3 separate regions of the Homo sapiens genome follow, and regions 1 and 2 are each linked to region 3. Evidence: promoter capture Hi-C in 16 types of primary human blood cells and fetal thymus (Javierre and others, 2016). All regions are on one chromosome and are shown on one strand. Each heading gives the region's core, a stretch centred on a gene start or on the middle of the fragment in contact. The rest is flanking DNA. Distances are from core to core; before and after follow the strand shown. Region 1 holds the start of NRDE2 (NRDE-2, necessary for RNA interference, domain containing). Region 2 holds the start of EFCAB11 (EF-hand calcium binding domain 11). Region 3 holds the start of BTBD7 (BTB domain containing 7).

Region 1 (4,237 bases), core at 537-3,036, 3.0 Mb after region 3:
GGGGTGGAAAGATAGGAGGCATTGGGATAGACTATTTCCATCCCAGTTACCTGAAGTGATCTGCTAAGAAAGACAAATGCTGCCCCAATTAATTGAGGTAACTTAGAGTCAAAGATTTTGGCAGAACCTGAGATTTAAAGTTGAAGACATACAGGAATTACTGCCCCTATTGTCATACTAAGCTCCTTTTTGTAAGTACTCTGCCAGGGACTTCAAAGCATTAAGGGTGTCTATTTTGGACTCATAGAACCTAATTCTTATGCAGGTCTGCAGACTTCATCAGAGTCCATCCATTCCTTGATTAGATGATTACATTTGCATCTCTGGTTTATAATGTATTTCCTAACTAAAGATCTTTAACTCCCTAGGATCCCAATAAATATATCTTCATTTACCTATCTATTTTCACTTGCAAATATTTCAGTATATATCTCTAATATATAAGAACTTTAAAAAGTAATCTCAGGCTGGGTTGGGGGGTGCTCAGGCACAGGCACCCAGCACTTTGGGAGGCAGAGGGGGGCAGATCGCTTGAGCCCAGGAGTTCGAGACCAGCCTGGGCAACATGGTGAAACCCTGTCTCTATTAAAAAAAAAAAAATTAAGCCAGACATGGTGGTGTATGCCTGTGGTTCCAGCCACTTGGGAGGCTGAGGTGAGGGGATTGCTTGAATCGAGGAGTTCGAAGCTGCAGTGAGCAGAGATCGTACCACTACACTCCAGCCTGGGTGGCAGAAGGAGACCTTGTCTCAAAATAAATAAATAAGGGTCACCTCAGTGACATAAGTACTTTAGTACATCTAACAGAATTCACAAGAATTACTTGTGAATTGCTTGTACTCTGCCTACCTTCTTATTTCTCCATCTATCTTAAAAAGGTCTTTTTACAGTTTGTCCAATCAGAATTATAATGAGGCCACAAATATGTTGTATTTGCTTGATGTGTCTGTAAGATCTTCGTATCTATTACAATCTCCTGCCCTCTTAAAGCCCTTGATATGTTAAGGAAGCACGGTTGTTTTCTATAATTTCCCATATTCTAGATTTGGCTAATTGTTTCTTGGTAGTACAAAGTCTTCTAAGTTGTTCCTTTACTCTCTATATTTCTGGTAGCAAGTGTGATTAGATTTTGGGTGGGAGGAACCGGGGTCAAGAATGCTTCACAGACAGGTATTTCCTAACTATCAAAGACCCTTGAACTTGATGGGACTTTCCATTTTTCCTTGTTCTGGGGTATTTAATATGGTAACCTGATTGAAGTTCGGATATCTCACATGACTTTGAGCCGAACTTGCAGTCGTAATTCACATAATAGCTAACACATATTAAGTGCTTTTCATGGGCCGGACTCAATGCTAGGCCCTTTATAAATATGTTCATTTAATCTTCTCAATATTTTGCAGATAAGGAAAGTAATGCTTAGAGCGTTTAAGTTGACCCAGTTAGCAAGGATGGTGTGAATTTAGGGGTCGAACTGGAATCCCAATTTCCTTAGTCCCTTTCGCGGTCAACAATTCCCTTCTCCGGTTTTCGCAGTTCCGGTTCTCACAGGGTCCCAACCACTAGGAACCCGTCACTCCTCGCTCCGCCCCCCTTGGCCCCGCCCCACCCTGCTTTGCCCTGCCTCTCCCTGCCCCGCCGCGCCCCAGTCCCTTGACGACCCTCCTCTCTGGGCCCCGCCCCTCCCGCTTCGGGGTCAAGCCCCAGAGAGCGCCGCGAAAACCACATTTCCCAGAGTGCACCGCGACGGCAGGGGTCCTCAGACCGGCGCTCGCTCGCCGGCGCCATCCCTATAGAGAAGAACGGAGGTACGGCCTGTGGTCATGGCGCTGTTCCCAGCCTTTGCGGGGCTTAGTGAGGCTCCCGATGGCGGGAGCTCCAGGAAAGGTAAGCACACAAACGAGCCGAAGAAGGCACCTGGGGGGCTTAAGAGGCTGTTTCTCGGGCCCAGGTCTAGACTTTTGCTTTGGATTTGTGTATCCATTTGTATCCCAGAGTTCTCCGCGGCGCTGCAAAGCCTTCTGGGAAAGGCTCAATCCCTCCGAGGTCTGGGGCCCAGAGGCCTGTTCTGGACCAAGGTTGTAGAGTTATGGAGGGGTGGAGAAAGACCAGCAGATGCCCTGGAGCTGGGACTTCTGTACGATGTTGTTAGGTCCTGTTCTTCTTTTCGAGCCTCAGTTACTTCATCTTTAAATTGGGAATAATGATACTCGACATCTCGAGGAAACCCTTGATGCAAATGCAGAATGTTTTTATTACATATTACTTCCTTTCCTGTTATACTTATTTCTGAAATGCTTATTAGATTGGTATTACTTAGCGGCCTAGAGCTAGGGGATTAGTATCCAAAACCTAATCAGTTTCTCTCTGGAGGGGCACAGCACCCAGTGAAAATAACTAACATTTATTCTTGAGGGCCTAGTGTGTATCAGGTTATGGCTTTACACATTTTACTTAAGTCCCAGACATTTCCAGCAGAGCTGCATTGTTCAAAATTGGGGTACATAGTTCATTTAAGAAGTAATTAATCCTGGCCAGGAGCAGTGGCCCACACCTGTAGGTGGAAGGATAGTTTGAGCCCGGGAGTTCATGACCATCATGATCAACATAGCGAGACTCCTGTCTCTTAAAAAAAAAGCCAGGCGTGGTGGTGCACACCTATAGTATCAGCTCCTCAGGAGGCTGAGGTAGGAGGATTGCTTGAGCCCAGAAGTTTGAGGCCGCAGTGAGCCATGATCGTGCCGCTGCATCCTGCCCTGGGGTGGGGGGACCTTGTCTCTAAAAAAAAAAGAAAAAAAAGTAATTCTAAATTATGTGCCATATGTGACAGGGCGCAATTGAGTCTTACCTGTCTGTTATATCCTCTAATATAGTTCCTACACTTTCTGTAACGTTTCTCCTAATTTTTTTTTTTTTTTTTGAGACAGGGTCTCACTCTGTTGCCCAGGCTGGAGTACAGTGGCACTGTCATAACTCACTGCCGCCTCAGACTCCTGGGCTTAACTTCCTGCCTCAGCCTCATGAATAGCTGGAACTACTGGTGTGCACCACCAGGCCTGGCTAATTTTTTTTAATATTTAGTAGAGACGAGGTCTCACTGTGTTGACCAGGCTGGTCTCGAACTCCTGAGCTCAAGCGATTCTCTATCTGAGCCTCCCAAAGTTCTAGGATTACAGGCATGAGCCACTGCGCTTGTCCTATTTCTCATAATTGTGAGTAATTTCTTGTGTAAAATTGTTGTCTTCCCTTACTAGACTGTAATCTCTATCAGGTTGGGCAGTGTTTGTCTATTCATTGTAGCATAGTTAGCCCCTAGCACAGGTCCAAAGTATAATAGGTGTTCAATAAATATTTTCTGGATGTACAGATCGATAGTAGTTACTTAATAATTACGTGTTGCAGGAATGCATGAGTGCACCTAAAAGAAGTGTATAGTACAAGGTGGGATATTACAGATACCATAGGTGAACTGCAGGATTAATTACTTCTTTTTATTTATTTATTTATTTATTTTTTTTTTTGAGACCAAGTCTTGCTCTGTCGCCCAAGCTGGAGTGTAATTGTACGATCTTGGCTCACTGCAGCCTTCGCCTCCTGGGTTCAAGTGATTCTCCTGCCTCAGCCTCCCGAGTAGCTGGGACTACAGGCACTCACCACCATGCCCGGCTAATTTTTGTATTGTTAGTAGAGATGGGGTTTCACTGTTTTGGCCAGGCTGGTCTCGAACTCCTAACTTTAAGTGATTCGCCCACCATAGCCTCCCAAAGTGCTGGGATTACAGTTGTGAGCCACCACACCCAGCCCAGGAATAATTACTTCTAATAGAAGGTTCAAAGAAGGCTTTATGTAGGAACTAATATTTTTTTCTTTTACTTTTTTTTTTTTTTTTTTTGAGGCAGTCTCACTCTGTCACCCAGGCTGGAGTGCAGTGGCACAATCTCAGCTCACTGCAACCTCCGCCTCCTGGCTTCAAGTGATTCTTGTGCCTCAGTCTCCCGAGTAGCTTGGATTACAGGCATGCACCACCACACCTGGCTAATTTTTTGTATTTTTAGTAGAAATGGGGTTTCACCATGTTGGCCAGGCTGGTCTTGAACTCCTGAGCTTAGATAATCCGCCCACCTCGGCCTCCCAAAGTGCTGGGATTACAGGTGTGAGCCAACGTACCCAGCCTACTTTTTTTTTTCTTAAGTAGGGACAGGGTCTTGCTATGTTGCCCAGGCTGATCTCAGACTGCT
Region 2 (4,582 bases), core at 1,436-3,935, 3.4 Mb after region 3:
AGTTTTTTAGTCTGTGAAATGGATATCATGCTTACCCCCTGGAGTTCATTCATTCAATAACTTACTGGGCAGCTATTATGTACCAAAAACTGGGAATGAGGCGTTAACAATATAGTTTCTACCCTAGCAGAGCTAATTTCAGGGCAGAAGAGACAGACCCACACATAAAAATTTTAATAGCCAAGATGAGTTAGACATTCATTACATTTTATAAGTATGAGACAGAAAAATAGGGGTGACCTTTGGAATATACTTAAAAAGTAACATATAAATGAGACCCAGAGGGCCAAAAGGAACCTGCTGTCTAAATGATGGGGTGAAGAGCATTCCCAAGTAGAGGGAACCCAGCCGGCAGAGGTGGGAAAGAGGTCATAAGAAAGGACTTAGGCAAGGCAGGCAGTGGTCCGAAGCGGGTGAGGGGAGAAGACTTGTTAAAGAAATTGGATTTTATGCAATGATCAATGGGACCCCACTGAGGGCTTTAAGAAGGGGAGTCCGATTTACATTTATTTTTTTGAGACAGAGTCTCGCTCTGCCGCTCAGGCTGGAGCGCAATGGCGCAATCTCGGCTCACTCCAACCTCTCTGCCTCCCAGGTTCAAGCAATTCTCCTACCTTAGCCTCCCGAGGAGCTAGGATTACAGGCATCCACCATCACGCTCGGCTAATTTTTCTATTTTTGTAGAGACGGGGTTTCACCATGTTGCCCGGGCTGATCTCAAACTCCTAACCTCAAGTGATTCAGCCGCCTCGGCCTCCCAAAGTGCTAGGATGACAGGCGTGAGTCACCGCGCCCGGCCTTCGATTTGCCTTTTTAATACAGCTGTGTGCTCCAACTCTGCGGAGAATGGGTTGAAGACAAAGGAAGTGAGAGGGCTCTTGCTGAAGGCGTTGGGGACGGAGCAGATTCAGAACGTGAGGAAGTGACGGCAGCAGCTGCTAACCTTACTGCGTGCTCATTTGGGGCCGGCCAGGCACGATTCGAAGCGCCTCACCAAGTGTAAACTCGCTTCACCCTCAGGACAACTCTATACTACGTACCGTGACCGTCCTCCTATACTGGGAAACCGAGCACAGAAAGCTTAAGCGCCTGGCACGTGGTGGGCGCTTTCCTACTCACTTTCTGGGACCACGCACCTGTAAGCTTAGGTCTGGGAATAAAAACCCGAGCAGGGGCCCCTAGCGCCGCGCCCCGGCAGGACACAGGTCTCCGCAGCGCCCGTGCGCGCCCCCTGAGGCGCTGTGATCGGAGGAAACCGAGGCCCCGGGGCCGAGGCGACCCTGCCCCATCTTCCCGGCCGCGCCGCTTCCTCGCGGTCCGCCTCCAGCCCTGCCGGACCCCAGCAGCCCGCGCACCGCGACTCGGCCAGGAGCAGGATCCCGGGCCCGACCGCAGCCCGCGAGAGACCGCACCGAGTCCGCGCCCACTGCCGCCCAACACGTACCTGAGGCGCACAGAACCAACGCTTGCCTCGGATCCCGCCCCTTCGGCGGCCGCCGCGCATGCGCGCAGTTCAAACCCTGGCGGCAGCGGCTTGTGCCTCGAGGCCCGGCCCCTTCCCCTTCCGGAGAGCCCACCGCTGGGTCCTAAAGCCCGCCGGGTGTTTACCCAGGACGGGGCTGGGGAAACCTGGTCTCTCCTAGCTCTTGGCTTACTTCCTGGAGACTTCTTAAAACGAGAGGAGAACCAGAAAGGCGTCCCCTAACTTCGCTCTAGTTAACTAATAGCAAGACTCACCCTCTTTACAGGATTCTCATGGCTCAGGCTCCCAGGGCTCCATGCAGCGGCGTTTGGTTTAAAGTGGAGAGAGGATACGCTTAGGTTAAAGGCAGCTGCAAGGAGACCTGTGTCCTGGGAGGGGCTGGGTGCAGACTTTGAAATCTGCTGCAAAATAAAAAGTTAAATGAGTTCCCATTGGACTCAGAACCTCGAATGTCTGTTCCTTCTTCGCAACAGTTGCGTTCTCGTAAAATCTTCTGAGAAAAGGAACTCGCCCCACGTTCCTTGCCTTTAATAAGGATGTTTGCTGTGGGATTTGGGCTCGGTGCTGTTTATGGTATTTATTCTTGGAATCTCTTTCACACTAGGCATCTCTTCCAGAGGACTGAGTGAAATACATCTGTGTAAATATAACGGCTCGTTTCGTTCTTTCATTGAAGATCTACTTTGTGCCAGGCACAGTGCTAGGTGCTGGGATTATCTTGAGGACATAACAGATGTAGTAGCTGCCCTAGGAGCTCGATCCCAATGACTTGCTGATCTGAACGAGAATCCTGGACTTGGCTCTTTTCGTTTGGTTCTTCTTGTTTGTTCACAGTCTTTTTGTCTCCTATAACGTTTAGCATAGTGTCATAGATCTAAATGATTAAAAGTAACCTATTGCAAGATGGAGGGAGAGAATGAAATAAATCATGAACCAGGCATTGAACCAGCACCTAGAAGCGCTTGGATTTCCAGCCGCGCTCAACGAGTTAAGGGACAGTCAGGGGGTGGAGCCAAGTGCTGGGGGCAGGCCTGGGCGCCTCACTGCCAGGGCGGCTCCAAGGAAACGTAATTAAACAAAGACTCTGGCCAATAGCCCTGCGGGATTAACGCGAGTGGCTGGCAGGTTGTCCAATGGGAGGAGACGTCGGAGTTGCGCGGTGAAGTTCGGCTTCCTGAGCCGCGGTGGGCGTGGCCGCGGTAGGCTGCCAGCCAGGCTGGGAAAGCGGTGGTAGCTGGTTGGGTTGCTGGGGCTCGGTTGTTGTAGTCGCGATGTTCTTCTCCGAGGCCAGAGCCAGGTCGCGGACGTGGGAAGCCAGTCCCTCGGAACACAGGAAGTGGGTGGAAGTAGGTTTCCGGAGGGCGACTGAGCCTCGGACTTCAGCTTGGCCTGGGCCTCTCGCTTCCTCTCCCGTGTCTGGGTCTCACTCTGCCGGGTGTGCAGATAAGACCTGGGCTGCCTGTCCAAAGGGTCGTGGTTAATGACTGATCCTGGAGCTGCAGGGCTCCTGGCTCCCCGTCCAGGACTACGGCTACCTCCAAGTTCCATCTCCTTTCTCTCTATATAGTCTATTAATGGTAACCTTGAGTCTGCATCTCTCCCGCCTTTCAAAGCCAGCCCCTTTGCCTCACCTTCCTAACTCCAGGACTGAATTTTGGGTAGAATTTATCTCAGTGGCCTAAATGAATTAATTTGCGTCACCTAGCGGTTAACTCGTTTGCACTTTGAGGGAAATTTCAGCCCATGTTTAAGAAAATTTCAGTCCATCTTTAAGATTTCTTGAGAATTAATATTGGGATAATGAAATTCTATTTTCATACTCTACCGCTGGGCCAAGTTTTAGATTTTCGAGGTCCAAACTGTATAATAAACTAGTAATAAAAATAAACCATTTCTGTCTCATTAACTAAAGCTATTTAATGTTCTTCAGGTATTTAAAGCATGTGATGAAGATCACAAAGGATATCTCAGCAGAGAGGACTTTAAAACTGCTGTTGTAATGCTGTTTGGGTACAAGCCCTCCAAGGTAGAGCTTTCTTATATATTTGGGGATGGGGTAGACGATCAAAGGTGAATGGATCCTAAGAAAAGTTCACAGGGCTAGCTTAGGATGTTTATAAATTGCTTTATAAGCAATTTCAGAGATGTGTCCAGTGCTGAATTTTAGCTTCCTCTTAACACCTCAGCCCAGAGATGAAGTAGAAATCTTTTCCACTGGAGTCTACACAAGCCTATCTCACCACCAGGCTGCTAATAACTACTATAAATACAAGATGCTAGAGAGGTGCCAAGAGGGAAGACTGAGAGGGGAGTGTTGGTAACAGGAGAAATTTACATAGGACATGACATAGTCTCTTTCTCGTTTTACTTTTGTTGCTTTGTTTATAAAATACATCCACGGTCAAAAAATTAAAACAGTGCAGAAAGGTATAAAGTTGAGCATAAAATCCGCTCGCCGCCTACCAGAGGGTCCCACTCCTAGGGGATTACCATTAACAGTTTTTTTGTGTAATTCTGAAATTTTCTATCCATGACATACATATGCATAGTCTTTTATTGAAAACATAAATGGGTAAATATTGTGCCTACTTTAACTTGCTTTTCTCATTTAACAATATATCAACCTAAAAGCACACACCACTACTGCATTTTAAAATATGGTTGCATATTCTTTTTAGCCAGGTTCCTGTCTGGGGTTATATAGGTGGGGTTTTTTTTTTTTTTCTGCCAACATTGCTGCAATGATACACACATTTATGTCCTTGTGGCTGTATATCTGTGGAATAAGTTCCTAGAAGTATAACTGCTAGGTCATGGAATATGTACGTTTAAAATTTTGTTAGATATTTGCTCTCCAGAAAAGATTGCACCAATTCACCAATAATGAGAGTTGAGCTGAGCCTCCATGAACCTCCTGCTTGAGTAGGGCAAGTTTCCTGCTCACCCCTGTCTTTATGCTTTTCTGCTTTCCTGTTACATTCATTCGAGAGACAACACCCTTCTTGTTAAGCTGGAATTAGTCAGAGTCAAGATATTGTCCAGATTCAAGAAATTGAGCTGCCACCATCAAGCAAAGGAAGCACTCAGAGCTCAGCCTGG
Region 3 (4,886 bases), core at 1,805-4,304:
GGTAAAAAAGGGGGGTACAAAGGAAGGAAAAGACTGGAGTGACAGACCATGGAATATACCATGAAATGTTGATTACTCTTATTTTCAACATAGATGACCAGGTGGATGGGATGCCATTCACTGATGGAGGGAGTGGAGAAAGGAACAAAACATAAATTCAGGACTTTTGGTTGAAAGCCACAGAAGTTCACTGTTTTTACCCATTTCCAACTAACTTAAGATAAAAAGAGGTGTTAGGGCAACTTAATGGCTTCTAAAAATGAAAAGACCAGGGATGGGTTGGTTTCAGGCCCAGGTAGGCCCAGGTATTCAAATGATGTCATGGTTTTCCTTTCTCTCACTTTGTTTCTTTGTTTATGGTCTTCCTCCTTTCCTACCGCACATGGCTTTCTCCTCATTGGCAAACAAAGCCAATTTACATGTCCTTTCGAGTCATAATCCCGGAGAAATAGAGTAAGAAGAAACATCTCCTCTGAGAGTGTGGCAAAAATTTCCAGAAAAGGTTCTGGTTGACCTATTTGTGTCATATGGCCATCCAGATCTATCTGATTCTAGAATGCATGCTGTTAACCACTACTTAGTACCATCTTAACACTAGCCTTAAAAAAATGTTTTTCACTCTGTCTTCTTATTTAGATTCTAAGCTCCTTAAGTACAAAGATCCATTTATTTTTTACCCCCAGCATGTAGTACCGTGCTTGGCACATGGTACTGGATACTTTAAATGTGTATCGGACTGAACTAAAATAAACATCTAAATTCTGATGAGTGTGTAAACTGAGCTAATTCAGGATCTCAAAAGTACAGTTAAATGGTATAATAAGGAAACAGTGAATGAATTAAAGGGTAGAAAAAAATCATGGATCACTTACAAATGGTTTCTAGATCCAAACAGTCTACTAGAAGTCTCCAGCTGTGCAGATAGACAAAAGGACAAGGTGCAACCAGCAGACCTTACTTGGCTTTTCAAAAAGTTTTAGATTTCCACATCAAAGGCTGTTAGAAAAAGTGTTATCCTGAAATTACTTAGAATTCTATTGTTGTTGATACCATTTTAATTTTGTTTTTTAAATTGTGGCTAGGAAATAGAAGCAAAGTCAAGTAATAAAGGTTAGTAATAAGTGTAAACAGTGGGGACTGATCTTATTTAACATTTCCATAAATTATAAAGAAGCAGTGTTTACACACCGCTTTTTAGTTTGCTAATCATAGCTCTTTCAGTTAATGCAATACAGTCATCCCCCATATACTATATACGTGGGATTGGTTCCAGGACCCACCACATATACCCCAATCCAAGCATACTCAAGTCTGCCTGTCCGTCCTGTGGAATGTGAGTATAAGAAAAGTCGGCCCTCTCAATACGGTGTTTAGAATCCCATGTACCAGGTTGCATTGATCGATCCGCACAGTTCAAACCCGTGTTGTTCAAGTGTTAACTGTATTTAGCAAATTAAGACAAAGGTAAAATGATGGAAAATAACAGTAAATGGCTTGAATTTAGATAAGGTTCACTTACGCCTTTGGGGAAGTATAAAAGTGTGGAACAAGAGGTGGACACTCAGAGGTAATCATTGGCTCCAATTAGATGGACCTATTTCTTTTATATTTTCTCACTTTTCCATGCATTTCTTGTCTATCGCCCTGAGGCTGTATGTTCAACTGAAGTGACCCTTACCAGCTAGAGGGGAATTTCAGGCAAGGGACTGCTACAATCTCTGCTACAATCTCCAAACCTTCAAGGATTGGGTAAGAGGGTGAAAAGGGTGAGATGGGTAAAGAAAATGAAGTAATACAAATTGGAAAGAGCTATCCTTTTCAAGGAAGTAAGGTGATGAAGAATGAGGGTGAGGAAAATACAAATCTGAAGGAAGTCCAGAGGAAAACAACAATGATATTGTCTCCAACTGAATATGAAAAGCATAAAATAATGGAGGGTCAAGAGATGGTTAAAAACACATCACAAAATTCCAAATTGCTCTTATCCTTTGAAGCTTAGAGGTGGTTTCAGAACAACAACAACAAAAAACTGTGTGACACAAAACTTGTTAAACAATGGGTAGAGATTGAAAATGCAAATACAATACTTTCAAATAAATTCCCAGAGTTGCTAATGTCTATCAGAGGAAAAGGAGGTGTAACGGTGCCTCCTCACTGGGTTCAGAATGCCTGGGTTCTGATCTTGGCTTGCCTACTTGTTAGTATTTCTGAGCCTGTCTCCTTGGTTGTAAAACAGCAATAAAAACACCTATCCTGACTACCACAAAGGGTGGCTTTGGCGTTCAAATGAAACCATGGATCTCTCTGGAAAACGACAGTGCCCCATAAATACAGTATTTTTGTTATTGCATCGCTGAAATTATTGCAAACCCCCAAACAAGGGGCATCTAGGGAAGAGCGACTTGGCTCTCCCACGTGGCGACTGTGTGTTTTCATCAATTTTGTCCTTTGTTTACAGGGGTATCTTGTTAAGGAAAACTTTTCAGTGTCTTAAAGATTATTTTTTAACCTACTACACAAGTAGCAAGGTGGTGCCTGTAAAAGTACCATGCAGACAAGTGCTTACGATAGACAAGTGCTCACTGCCAAGAAGCAGCCACCGGAATGCCAGGACTGTCAGCAATGACTTTCCGCGGAAGAGTTGTTCTCGAGAAAGATGCACTCATTGCATGCGACCACCCGAGGGACGCCGGCCGCCGAACGGAAACATGAATTCGTGGAAATGGCCATCTGGTGACGTAGTAGTGACACAGTTCTTATATTCTGATACATTTAATAATGTGTCACAATTCGCTGGACTAAGCAGGATGCTGCCACAAGAGGCAAACTCCCAGCGACCCGACGCCCGGCTCCCAGCCGACGAGCAAAAATAATGCGCGCGCACTCCGCTCCCATGGATCCAGCGAACGCACCGCCCCCCCACGCGGCCCGACTCGCGCGGCGACGTCGGGCCACGTGACCCTGAGCGGGACGACGGCAGGGGAGGGCGGGGGCTCCGGCCGGCTCCGCAGCGCCGCGCAGGCGCCCCAGGGCCACGCCGAACCGAGCCCCTCCTGCTCCGTCTAGGAGTCAAAATGGCGGCGAGGGGAACCTGGAGCAGTCCCGGAGCCTGAGCCACTGACAGGAGAGGAGAGGGCGGCGGCGGCGGCGGTGGGAGGAGGATGGCCGGGGGTGCTGGCGCCGGTGCGGACGGCGGTGCTGGTGGCGGCGGCGGCGGAGGCGACGGCAGCGGTCCCAGCGGCAGCAGCAGCGGCGGGAGGAGCCTCCGGGGTGAGTGTCCCTTGGTGTCTCTGAGGCTGTGGAGCCGAGGCTGTGTCCGGTGTGGCGCGGGGCGTCCGGGAGAGGAAGGGGCTGTTCTTAGGCGTGGGGGCGCCGGGGCTGGGGCCAAGCCGCCGCGGGAGGCGCTGGGGCGCCGGGCGGGGAGGGGCCAGTCGTCCGTCTGGGGCTGAGGCGCGGCGGCGCCGGACTGGCCGGTCTCTGTGCGCTCCGAGGGGCGGGCTGGAGCGCGCCGCCGTCCCTGGGGCAGGGGCGCGAGGTGTGGCGCTCGGGGCGGGGAGAGCGGCCCGAGGGAGTCGCGACGGCAGCCCGGCCGGCTTTGGGCTCCGGGCGCCGAGGGGCGGGACCCGTCGCTCCCAGGACGCTGAGAAACCGCTCCCGAGACGGGGGCGCGTGTTTACCCGGGTGCGGGGTTGCGACCGCCAGGGGTGGGCGTGAGAGTGGCCGGCGGGGTCTGGGAAGGGAGCAGGCCTGAGGACTGCTACTCCCAGGGGAAGTTAGATTGTCCGGGTAAGTTACTATTGCGGGATAAACCTGGAATTGAGCTTTGACAGGTTGGGAGGGAGACAATACCGAGTGTTTGATAAAGAAGAGGAGGCTGTGCTTGTTGGACTACTTGAATGGCAAAAAGTGTGCATATTTCAGTACCTTATTTGCACAGTGTTTGCTAGCTTTACCCCGAGGGTGAGAACTTTCTCACCGTTTTTCAAGAAACTCTGAGGAGTGTTGTTTCTCCTGTGAACTACAATTGCACGTCTTCACATACCAGCACAGATAATAAGTACTCTGGAGTAGGCCTAATTTACAGAAGCAGTCTTGGTTATCTACACCAGAGCACTGTTAACTCTGCGAAAACATCTTACTGTAATGAGAAAGTAGACATTTTTACAGAATTACTTAGCTTTTTCAACTAACAACCTTTTTGGGGGGGGGGAGACGGAGTCTCGCTCTGTCACCCAGGCTGGAGAACAGTGGTGCGATCTCGACTCACTGCAACCTCCGCCTCTCAGGTTCAAGCGATTCTCCTGTCTCAGCCTCCCAAGTAGCTGGGATTACAGGCGCCCGCTGCCACGCCCGGCTAGTTTTTGTATTTTTAATAGAGACGTGGTTTCACCATGTTGGCCAGACTGGTCTCGAGCTCCTGACCTCTGGTGATCCGCCCGCCTCGTCCTTCCGAACTACTGGGATTGCAGGCGTGAGCCACCGCGCCCGGTCTGGTCAACTAACAATCTTTTGTCCCTAATAGCATCTGTTTCCTTTAGATTGCTGAAATGAATTGCTTTCTTCCTGAAATGTGGAAGAAAGACTTGAAATTGCTTTGCAAGAATCATACGTTGTTAATAGCAACTGTTATTAGACTTGTCATGGAATTTTGGAGTCAGAAAAACTTTTAGAGATCTAAAGGTGTGAATATTGTTTTAGAGCCGGGAAACCAGACCCAGAGAGGCGAGTGACTTGTTGTGGATCCTACAGCTGGCGATGGATTAGACCAAAACTAAGATGTAGGCCTCTACACCCCATTACCCCATTTAGAGAGCTCATTGTTACTACACTGCTGAGCTGCTTACTTTTCATTGATTGCATTCTTCACCATTCACTACCTACCCCTA

Evidence for each region. The method cuts DNA at HindIII sites, captures the fragments that hold promoters and counts their contacts. A CHiCAGO score of 5 or more calls a contact.
Region 1: a contact is called between the fragment with the promoter of NRDE2 here and the fragment with the promoter of BTBD7 in region 3, in 3 of 17 cell types (fetal thymus, total CD4 T cells and naive CD8 T cells). The highest score is 10.6, in fetal thymus.
Region 2: the fragment with the promoter of EFCAB11 here is called in contact with the fragment with the promoter of BTBD7 in region 3 in 1 of 17 cell types (non-activated CD4 T cells); the score reaches 5.7 in non-activated CD4 T cells.

What each region holds. Positions count from the first base shown.
Region 1 is chr14:90,329,490-90,333,726 of GRCh38, reverse strand. It overlaps NRDE2 (NRDE-2, necessary for RNA interference, domain containing), which reads left to right and starts at 1,786. Exons shown (of 14, transcript NM_017970.4): 1 at 1,786-1,886. The coding sequence starts at 1,823. RefSeq lists a silencer at 1,553-1,702 and an enhancer at 1,853-2,032. The HindIII fragment of the contact is 5,093 bases long and covers 1-4,237 here.
Region 2 is chr14:89,952,833-89,957,414 of GRCh38, reverse strand. It overlaps EFCAB11 (EF-hand calcium binding domain 11), which reads left to right and starts at 2,685. Exons shown (of 6, transcript NM_145231.4): 1 at 2,685-2,829; 2 at 3,414-3,509. The coding sequence starts at 2,755. TDP1 (tyrosyl-DNA phosphodiesterase 1) reads right to left here and starts at 1,488. Exons shown (of 17, transcript NM_018319.4): 1 at 1,445-1,488; 2 at 615-837. RefSeq lists a silencer at 1,161-1,390 and an enhancer at 2,456-2,956. The HindIII fragment of the contact is 3,728 bases long and covers 1,146-4,582 here.
Region 3 is chr14:93,331,204-93,336,089 of GRCh38, reverse strand. BTBD7 (BTB domain containing 7) reads left to right here and starts at 3,054. Exons shown (of 11, transcript NM_001002860.4): 1 at 3,054-3,270. It also overlaps a transcript of UNC79 not described here. The HindIII fragment of the contact is 5,146 bases long and covers 1,997-4,886 here.